2 separate regions of the Homo sapiens genome follow, and region 1 is linked to region 2. Evidence: promoter capture Hi-C in human tissues and cell types (Jung and others, 2019). All regions are on one chromosome and are shown on one strand. Each heading gives the region's core, a stretch centred on a gene start or on the middle of the fragment in contact. The rest is flanking DNA. Distances are from core to core; before and after follow the strand shown. Region 1 overlaps LOC124903678 (a long non-coding RNA gene). Region 2 holds the start of SRCAP (Snf2 related CREBBP activator protein).

What was found. The method cuts DNA at HindIII sites, captures the fragments that hold promoters and counts their contacts. A contact is called where the count stands out against the background at its distance.
Region 1: a fragment that was not itself captured here is called in contact with the fragment with the promoter of SRCAP in region 2 in 2 of the 25 tissues and cell types used here (heart right ventricle and small bowel).

The regions. Positions count from the first base shown.
Region 1 is chr16:30,612,015-30,615,765 of GRCh38, forward strand. LOC124903678 (a long non-coding RNA gene) reads left to right here. Exons shown (of 2, transcript XR_007065051.1): 2 at 3,238-3,751. Among named protein-coding and RNA genes, the nearest start is that of ZNF689, 3.5 kb to the left of the region's middle. RefSeq lists a silencer at 3,605-3,751. The HindIII fragment of the contact is 7,596 bases long and covers 1-3,751 here.
Region 2 is chr16:30,696,447-30,702,640 of GRCh38, forward strand. SRCAP (Snf2 related CREBBP activator protein) reads left to right here and starts at 2,725. Exons shown (of 34, transcript NM_006662.3): 1 at 2,725-2,796; 2 at 3,462-3,535; 3 at 4,170-4,432. The coding sequence starts at 4,379. LOC730183 (a long non-coding RNA gene) reads right to left here and starts at 2,614. Exons shown (of 2, transcript NR_144637.2): 1 at 2,435-2,614; 2 at 1,261-1,485. It also overlaps the pseudogene RNU6-1043P. RefSeq lists enhancers at 1,536-1,625, 1,656-1,845, 2,502-2,796 and silencers at 1,966-2,375, 2,516-2,745. The HindIII fragment of the contact is 12,049 bases long and covers 1-6,194 here.

The DNA.
Region 1 (3,751 bases), core at 23-2,522, 86 kb before region 2:
GTGCTAGGCAATTGGGAGAGCGTACATAAATAAGTCATAGGCCATGCTTTGAATGGAGCTTACAGTCTAGTAAAGCATATAAATTCACAATGAATCATAACAGAATGATACAAGCATGTATGTGAAAGGCACTGAACTGAAAATTGCTGATGGAACAAGCCAGCACCCACCCCATTAGCCTCCACATTTTTTTTTTTTTTTTTTTTTTGAGACGGAGTCTCGCTCTGTCACCCAGGCTGGAGGGCAGTGGCGCCATCTCGGCTCACTGCAAGCTCCGCCTCCCGGGCTCACGCCATTCTCCTGCCTCAGCCTCCCGGGTAGCTGGGACTACAGGCGCCCGCCACCACGCCCAGCTAATTTTTTGTATTTTTAGTAGAGACGGGGTTTCACCATGTTAGCCAGGATGGTCTTGATCTCCTGACCTCGTGATCCACCCGTCTCAGCCTCCCAAAGTGCTGGGATTACAGGCGTGAGCCACTGTGCCCAGCCCTTTTTTTTTTTTTTTTTAGACGGAGTCTTGCTCTGTTGCCCAGGCTAGAGTGCAGTGGTGCAAACTCGGCTCACTGCAACCTTGGCCTCCCGGGTTCAAGTGATTCTCCTGCCTCAGCCTCCCGAGTAGCTGAGATTACAGGCACCCGCCACTTTGCTCGGCTAATTTTTGTATTTTTAGTAGAGACGGGATTTCACCATCTTGGCCAGGCTGGTCTCGAACTCCTGACCTCATGATCCAACCACCTCTGCCTCCCAAAGTGCTGGGATTACAGGCATGAGCCACCACGCCCGCCCTAGCCCCTACTTCTATGTATGTGTTATACTGCAGAGTTTCACCAGCTCAATGCCACCCCCAAGGGTCCTGCGAGCAGGAGAATACACCATTTGCCATGTCTCTTAGCTAGTGACATGCACATCTATCTCTCTAACCCTTTAATCAATATTGTAAAGCATATACTATGGGCAAAACACTAACCTCAAAGCTTTCAAGGAATAAAGACAAACAATGTGGCAGGAAAAGTCACAAAATTAGAAGGCAATGAGGCCGGGAGCAGTGGCTCACACCTGTAATCCCAGCAGTTTGGGAGGCCGAGGTGGGTGGATCACGTGAGGCCAGGAGTTCAAGACCAGCCTGGCCAACATGGCAAAACCCTGTCTCTACTAAAAATACAAAAATTAGCCGGGCTTGGTGGCACATGCCTATAGTCCCTGCTACTTGGGAGGCTGAGGCATGAGAATTGTTTTCTGTTTTGTTTTGTTTTGTTTTGTTTTGAGACGGAGTTTTGCTCTTGTTCCCCAGGCTGAGTGCAATGGAGCAATCTCGGCTCACCACAACCTCCGCCTCCCGGATTCAAACGATTCTCCTGCCTCAGCCTCCCGAGTAGCTGGGATTACAGGCATGCGCCACTACACCCAGCTAATTTTGTATTTTTAGTAGAGATGGGGTTTCTTCATGTTGGTCAGGCTGGTCTTGAACTCCTGACCTCAGCTGATCTGTCCGCCTCGACCTCCCAAAGTGCTGGGATTACAGACATGAGCCACCAGGCCCAGCCGAAGAGAATTGTTTGAAACTGGAAGGCGGAGGTTGCAGTGATCCAAGATGGTGCCACTGCACTCCAGCCTGGGTGACAGAGTAAGACTAAGTCTCAAAAAAAAAAAAAAAAAAAAAGGCTGGGCTTGGTGGCTCACGCCTGTAATCCCAGCACTTTGGGAGGCCGAGGCGGGCAGATCACTAGGTCAGGAGATCAAGACCATCCTGGCTAACACGGTGAAACCCCGTCTCTACTAAAAATATAAAAAATTAGCCAGGCATGGTGGTGGGCTTCTGTAGTCCCAGCTACTCAGGAGGCTGAGGCAGGAGAATGGCGTGAACCCGGGAGGCGGAGCTTTCGACCGAGCGAGACTCGTCTCAAAAAAAAAAAAAAAAAAGAGGAAGGAGAAGAAAGAAGAAGGAGGAGGAGGATGAGGAGGCAGCAGTGAGATATTCAGAGGAAGGAGATGTTTGAACAGAGGTGGTGGAAAAAAAACTACAGTTACAGGCTAGGTGTGGTGGCTCACACCTATAATCCCAGCACTTTGGGAGGCCGAGGTGGGGGGATTGCTTGAGCCCAGGAGTTCAAGACCAGCCTGGCCACCATGGCAAAACCCTTTCTCTACAAAAAATACAAAAATTAACTAGGCATGGTGTCGGGCACTTATAGTCCCAGCTACTTGGGAAGCTGAGGTGGGGGGATCGATTGAGACTTGGGAGGTCAAGGCTACAGTAGCCAAGATTGCACCACTGCACTCCAGCCTGGGCGAAAGAATGAGATCCTGTCTCAAAAAACAAAAACAACAACAACAACAAAAAAAAAAGGCGGGAGCTCTAGCCTCCTAATTGTGGCTGGGCGTGTGGGCATGGTGGCTCATGCCTGTAGTCCCAGCCCTTTGGGAGGCTAAGGCGAGAGGATGACTTGAGCCCAAGAGTTCAAGGCTGCAGTTAACTATGATTATTACACCACTGCGCTCCAGCGTGGTCAACAGATTGAGACTCTGTGTTTAAATGAATAGAACAAAAACAAACAAACAAACAAAAAACCTGGGCTGCATGAATCTGTTAAGAAAAGTCAGGTCAGCTGGGCGTGGTGGCTCACACCTGTAATCCATCCCAGCACTTCAGGAGGCTGAGGCGGGTGGATTGCCTGAGGTCAGGAGTTCAAGACCAGCCTGACCCACATGGTGAAACCCTGTCTCTACTAAATACAAAAAATTAGCCGAGAGTGGTGGTGCATGCCTGTAATCCCAGCTACTTAGGAGGCTGAGGCAGGAGAATCGCTTGAACCGGGGAGGCTGAGGTTGCAGTGAGCCCAGATTGCACCATTGCACTCCAGCCTGGGCAACAAGAGTGAAACTCCATCTCAAAAAAGAAAAGAAAAGTCAGGCCAGGCACGATGGTTCGTGCCTATAATCCCAGCACTTTGGGAGGCTGAGGAGGGCAAATCACCTGAGGTCAGGAGTTCAAGACCAGCCTGACCAACATGGTGAAACTCCCTCTCTACTAAATACAAAAAAATTAGGCGGGTGTGGTGGCACATGCCTGTAATCCCAGCTACTTGGGAGGCTGAGGCAGGAGAATCGCTTGGACATGGGAGGCAGAGGTTGCAGTGAGCTGAGATCACATCACTGCACTCCAGCCTAGGGGACAAAGTGAGACTCCATCTAAAAAGGGAAAAGCCAAGCTTTTATTTCTTTTTTTCTTTTTTTTAGCAGGAGAAGCAGATGCCACACTCAGAGCAGGACTGAGGCTTCTCACCTGTATGCGTGTGCCTATGAATGGCCAAGGGAGCCTCTTTGGTGCACGCACCACACACAGTCAAAGCACCAGTAGGGCTTCTCTCCTGCATGGATAAGCTGGTGCTGGAGCAAGTTTCCCAGTCAGCAAGGGGAGTGCCACACTGTAGGCAGTGGTGGCAGTGCTCACCCAAGTGCATGTGCCTGGTGGTGGCCACAAGGGAGGGGAATGCAAACTGGCACCCACATCTGTGCACACATCCGCATATGTGCGTGGACAGCGCCCTCCTCAGGTGGAAGAGGTGGCTGCAGTCGGAGCCCTTGCAGAGCTCGTCCCCTGTGTGGGGGCAGCTGGTGCTGGACCAGGTGAGCTCTCTGGGAGAATTAGACACTGCATGACCCACAAATGTGGCTGTCGGTTCGGGACTGAACAAAGGAGGACGAACGCAGAAATGGAGACAAAGAAAAGGATCTGTTTTAAAGAAAGTGT
Region 2 (6,194 bases), core at 1,475-3,974:
ACAAAAATTAGTTGGGCATGGTGGCCAGTGCCTGTAATCCCAGCTACTTGGGAGGCTGAGGCATAAGAATTGCTTGAACCCGGGAGGCAGAGGTTGCAGTGAGCAGAGATCGTGACACTGCACTCCAGCTTGGGGTAAAGAGCGAGACTCTGTCTCTAAAAACAAAAAACGAAAAACAAAAAACAAACTATATAAAGCAGCTGGGGGCGGTGGCTCACACCTGTAGTCACAGCACTTTGGGAGGCTAAGGTAGGTGGATCACCTGAGGTCAGGAGTTTGAGAGCAGCCTGGGCAACATGGTGAAACCCTGTCTCTACCAAAAATACAAAAATTAGCTGAGTGTGGTGGTGCACACCTGTAATCCCAGCTACTTGGGAGGGTGAGCCATGAGAATTGCTTGAGCCCGGGAGACAGAGGCTGCAGGGAGCCAAGATTGTGCCATTGCACTCCGGCCTGGGTGACAGAGCAAGACTATCTCAACAAATGAATACATAAATAAATACTATGTAAAGCACATCAGAAAGCTAACCTTGACCTTAAGATCATGGGTGTGAAACACTGAACTATAGTGAAATATACTCCACATTTAGGTAGTCCTTTAGAGCTTTTTTATTTTTTCATAATTTTAAAATTTTTAATTTACTGTAGAGACGACGTCTCACTATGTTACCCAGGCTGGTCTTGAGCTCCTGGCCTCAAGTGATCCTCCTGCCTTGGCCTCCCAAAGTGCTGGGGTTACAGGTGTGAGCCACCGCACCTGGCCCTTTAGATCTTTCAAAGCAATTTTACATCAGCAATTCTATCCTCACTTTACAGAGGAAACTGAAGCTCAGAAAGGTGAAGTTAATTGCTCAAGGTCACATAGCAAGGAGTTAATGGCACAAGGCTAGGTCCAATTCAGGCTCTGGCCTGGGATCCCCTCTTCTGGGGGTGATGGGAGGAGGGTCTAGAAAAGATGGGCATCATCCACTTTTCTTTCAACCCAAACTTCATCTGTAAAATGGGACCAACAATCCTCTTCGCAGGGAAGAGCTAAACTGAATGGAGGAAGGGGAGCTTCATCAGGGCTTCCTAACCTGGCCTCTTAGCGGGGGCTTTAGGTGGTAAAATTTTATGACAGCGAGTGCATTCTTGTGGCTTAGACTGCTTGGCTAGGAATCTTGACTTCAGGATCTGTCACTGTGTTTTAACGCCTGAGCCTCAATTCGTTTGTAAAATGGAGCAGTTAGGATTAAAAGAAATAATCAAGGCACCAAGTAGTGTCAGTAGAAGGTAGCTGTTATTTATTGTTCTATTCTGGGGTAAAGGTATCAGATTCTCAAAGGGATTCTTAATCTAGAAAGTTTGCGAAGAGATGGCAAAGGTGTTTGAAAGCTATCAGGAAACCATCCTCGCGTAAAACGAAGCAGCGCTACAGAAGTGGGCTGCCATGGGAATCGGGAGGCCCAGGTTCCACTGCTAACTTGCTGCAGCTTACTGGGTGATCTGTAAATAAAAAGGGAGGTGGCGGTGGTCCGAGCTGGCAGCCGCAATGCAGCCCCAGGTAGATCTAGGGGCAAACGGTAAAGGCGCTCCGAGGAAGGGCGAGCGCGCAGCCTCTGGGAGACTACACCTCCCAGGCTGCCTTGCGCACCGTGCTGCACCCTACGCTAGCACGCGAGCCTCCCCGTTCCCCCACCCTCCAGTTACTGTCTCTCGCGAGAAGACGGGCCGCGCCGGCGATAGCGATTCCGAGCGAGTGGTGGTGGTAGTGGTGGTGGTGGCGGCCGAGACGGCGGCGGCCATTTTGGTGAGGCCTCGGGAGCGGCAGCGGCGGTTCGCTGGGAGTAGCGTCTGCCCTTTTTCCCACCCACCGTCCGCATCTGTGTGCTGCGCGAAGAGGCAGTGGAGGCAAGGCGGTGGCAGTAGCCGCAGTCTCCAGGGGAGTTTAAAGGCCGCGAAGGCGGTGGCCAAGAGGGGGCCCTCCCCCCTCCTAGGCGGGAGGGGGGGTGGTGCGCACGCCCCCGAGGACGCAGGTAAGGAGAGGGAGACAAGATGGCGAACGCCCCACAGTTCCCCCTCCCATGACGGCTGACTGCGCGCGCATCTTTCCGCCACCGCCTCCCCCCCACCTTCCCGGGGTGCTGCGCGCGCACCCTCAGCCGGGGCCCCGGGGCCGGTGCGCGAGGCTGTCGGCGCGCGCCCATAGAGACAGACTGAGGGGGTCAGGCCGGCCGGCGCTGGGCCCCGGCGTGTCTCCTCTCCCTTCCCGCCCTTCTGCGCACGCGTGCCTGAGCGAGCGAGCGAGCGAGCGAGCCCTGAGAGGACGGACCCAGGTGCGCTCCTGCCCGCCCACCAACCCAGTCACCCCTCAGGGGCGCGCGGGAAGAGGAAGGGGGGCGTGGGACGAGTAGTCGGGGCGCGCGCCCACCACATCTAGCCGGGGGACCAGGACCTGGTGGCACGAACCCTCCCTTCTCTCAGCCTTTCGCGGTCGGGTGATGGGGGGGCTCCCTGACGGGCTTGGATGACGAGCTTCCCAGCCCCGCGACCCTTGTGTGCGTGGGCTCGGGTTCTGGCGGGAGCCCCTGGGCCGTGCGCGCAGCCGGCTCGCTCCGCCTCCAGCCGCGCACGCGCGGGCCCCTCCCCCGCCCGGCGCGCACGTTGGGTGGGGTGGGAGTCTGGAGGGGGCGGGGCTATCTCAGGGCTAGTGGCAACTTGGGCAGAGGTCAGGGGTCACGCGAGGTCAGTCCGTCGGGAGGGCTAGGGAGATGGTCACGAAACCTGAAGTCAAGAGTTAAGGCTTGTTGGCTTCTGGTGAGCTCGGGTCTTGGGAACGTGTGGCGGAGTAGGGAGTGAATCAAAGCCGGCACTGTGGTTTAGGAATTTCCTTAAACACTGGGGAAGCATTTCCGGGCCTCCTGCGGGTTCACACTGCCTGTTTCCGGCGCGTGGTTCTTGGCAGTGCGGCCTCTCGCTTTTGACTGCTCCTGAGTCTCCTTTTGCTGTGGTTCTTGTATTTGGGGAAGTGTCTCAAGGCGCAGGTATGGGATATACAGCGCCCTGCCCTGAATCCTGGGCGGATTTTCCTGTGACCAGCCTGTTTGTTGACTCTTCCCGGGAGTTCCACTCTCACTTCTGCGTTCAGCCCTCACTGGAAAGGCCCGCAGGCAGGTAGCACCTTTCTGAGGTTCTGGATGTGACAGCTTTTTTTTGCTGTATTTTTTTTTTGTCTTCCATTCTGTGGTTGGAGCCTTTACACTTAAAATTTTTGAACTTTCTTTCTTCACTCCTTTCCTGCTCCTGCCCCCAGGCAGGATCGTATGTCCCTCCGGAATTCACAAAACATGATTTGCATTTCCCTGAAATGTGAGATTTTCCTACTACTGTAGTTTTTCTGTTTCTAGTCTTTTAACTGATTTGGGTATATTTAAACGTCTCAAAAAACTGGAGTAAATAATACGCTTTGATGGATGTTTCAGGTGTGATTCCCTTCAGTACGGCGGCACCGTGGAAGTGCAGACTTTCACAGGGGGTGTGGTCTCAGCTCACACAGGTGAGGGATCTGCTACCATTTTGTGTGCTGATGCTAATGGGAGAAATGTTTGAGATAAAGCAATTATAGGTCCGTATTGGGGATTTTCACTCTAGAGAAGCATGGGAATGTTTGCATGTGATTTTTCTGTAGAGGGTTTGATTATAGTACAACAACAGAACTGAGGCTGTGGGTTGAGGAAAACGTGGTCAACCTGGCTCTACCAGGAAGAGTAGCAGGTTTTCCTTGGTTTTGGCATCAGACTGTGGATTGAAGCCCTCCTATCACTTTTTTACTGTGTAACCTTCCGCAAATCATAAGGTCTTAACTTCGTAACTTACAAAACAGATTATATTAGAATGTAAGCTACATTTAGGTCGGGAATCCTTTCTGCATGGCTATATCCGTTGTGTGTAGGAGGAAGTCAATATTTGTTATGCTGTGAAAAGCACTTGGTTTTTAAGGTAGGTGTGAGGATTATAGAACACATCAAACAGGTACTAAAAGTATCTTATACATAGTAAGTGCTCAAGAAATGTAACCTGTAATTTCTGTGTTTCTCTTTATTCAGTGTTATTTCTGGTTTTTTAAAAATACTTTTTCATCCCCTTTAACTGCATTTCTGTCTTTTTTTTTTTTTTTAACCCTACTTTAGGTGCTCCAGAGGCTGGTGGACCTGAGCGGAGGCTGGGACGCCCTGGTGGGCCCCGGGCCCTGGAAGGCGGGTCCCGGTGGCCGGTGGCCCAGAATGAGGCCAGCTCCCAGCATGCCCTGCAGCCGGACGCCAGCCCCTCGGCCAGCAGTACTGGTGATAACAACCCAGTCATTCTTCAGGCATCCAAGGGGGAGCCTGGGAGTGGGACCATGCAGAGCAGCCCCTCCCCTGCTCACCCTCAGCTCCCAGTCCTACAGACACAGGTTTGAAAGTGGGAAGAGTTCCTTCTCTGCTTCTGCTTTGTGGATTGTTGAGTGTGAGGCAGAAGAAATGTGGCAGGGGAATATTTGTGGAGAGTTTTGGAGAATCTTTGGTGCTCGGGGGCTGGGCTGTAGTATATCAGGTCTGTTGGATACTCACATTCCATTTAACATTAGTGTAATATTATCTCCAAGAGTGTAAAAGCGCCTCGTTACCTGAAAAAGGTTGAATTAGGCTAGGCTGGAAATGGAGGTCGTGGCACCATGCTTCTAATACCATACGCTTTAAGAATAGTTTAACTTCTATCAGTACTGGAGTAGGATAAGCCTATGGATGGTGTGTAGTGTTCATTCCTTTCTCATACCAAGGAAGGGTGTGGGGTAGGAAAAAAAGCATGACTTTTAAACACATCTAGGTGTGTGTACAGTCAGCTTTCTATTTTAATTTTTTAAATTTTTCTATAAAAAGGGTTTCTTTATTGTGTCATCCTTGCACAGGGGCCATGCTAATCTTTTCTGTATCCTCCCAGTTTTAGTATATGTGTTGCCAAAGTGAGCAGTACAGTAAGCTTTTCATGTTTGTAAAGTTGGTATTTATAGTTTTCCTGAGAAACTGGGGAAATTTGTGACATACAGTCTTGTCATTTAGCCGAGGTAGGAATTTGAGTGGCGCAGTGTAAGGCTTATGTCCTGGAGTGAATTTGTGAATTCCCTGAGTATCCACCTTTCAGTAGGACTTTGTTTTCCATTTTTTTCTTTTCTTTTTTTTTTTTTTTGAAATGGAGTGTCTTTCAGCCAGGCTGGAATGCAATGGCGCGATCTCGGCTCACTGCAACCTCCGCCTCCTGATTTCAAACAGTTCTCCTGCCTCAGCCTTGCGAGTAGCTGGGATTATAGGCACCCACCATCATGCCTGGCTAGTTTTTATATTTTTGTAGAGATGGGGTTTCACCATCATGTTGGCCAGGCTGGTCTTGAACTCCTGACCTCAGGTGATCCACCCACCTTGGCCTCCCAAAGTATTAGGATTACAGGTGTGAGCCCCCAGGCCTGGCCTATTTTCCATTTCTTTCTTTCTTTTTTTTTTTTTTATTTTTAAGATGGAGTCTCGCTCTGTCACCAGGCTGAAATGCAGTGGTGTGATCTTGGCTCACTGCAACCTCCGCCTCCCGGGTTCAAACAATTCTTCTGCCTCAGCCTCCTGAGTAGCTGGGACTACAGGTGCGCGCCACCACGCCTGGCTAATTTTTGTGTTTTTAGTAGAGATGGGGTTTCACCATGTTTGCCAGGATGGTCTTCATCTTTGACCTCGTGATCCCCGCCTTACTCAGCCTCTCAAAAGTGCTGGAATGACAGGTGTGAACCACCGCGCCTGGCCCAGAGTTTCGCTTTTGTTGCCCAGGCTGGAGTGCAGTGGTGTGGTGTTGGCTCACTGCAACCTCCACCTCCTGGGTTCAAGTGATTCTCCTGCCTCAGCCTCTTGAGTAGCTAGGATTACAGGCGTCCGCCACCACGCCCAGCTAATTTTCTGTGTTTTTAGTAGAGATGGGGTTTCACCATGTAGGTTAGGCTGGTCTCAAACTCCTGACCTCTGGTAATCCACCCGCCTCAGCCTCCAAAAGTGCTAGGATTACAGGTGTGAGCCACCGTGCCCAGCCCTGTTTTCCACCCTCCTTCCCTCCCTCCCTCCCTTCCCTCCCTCCCTCCCTCCCTTCCCTGCCTTCCCTCCCTCCCTCCCTCCCTCCTTCCTTCCTTCCTTCCTTCT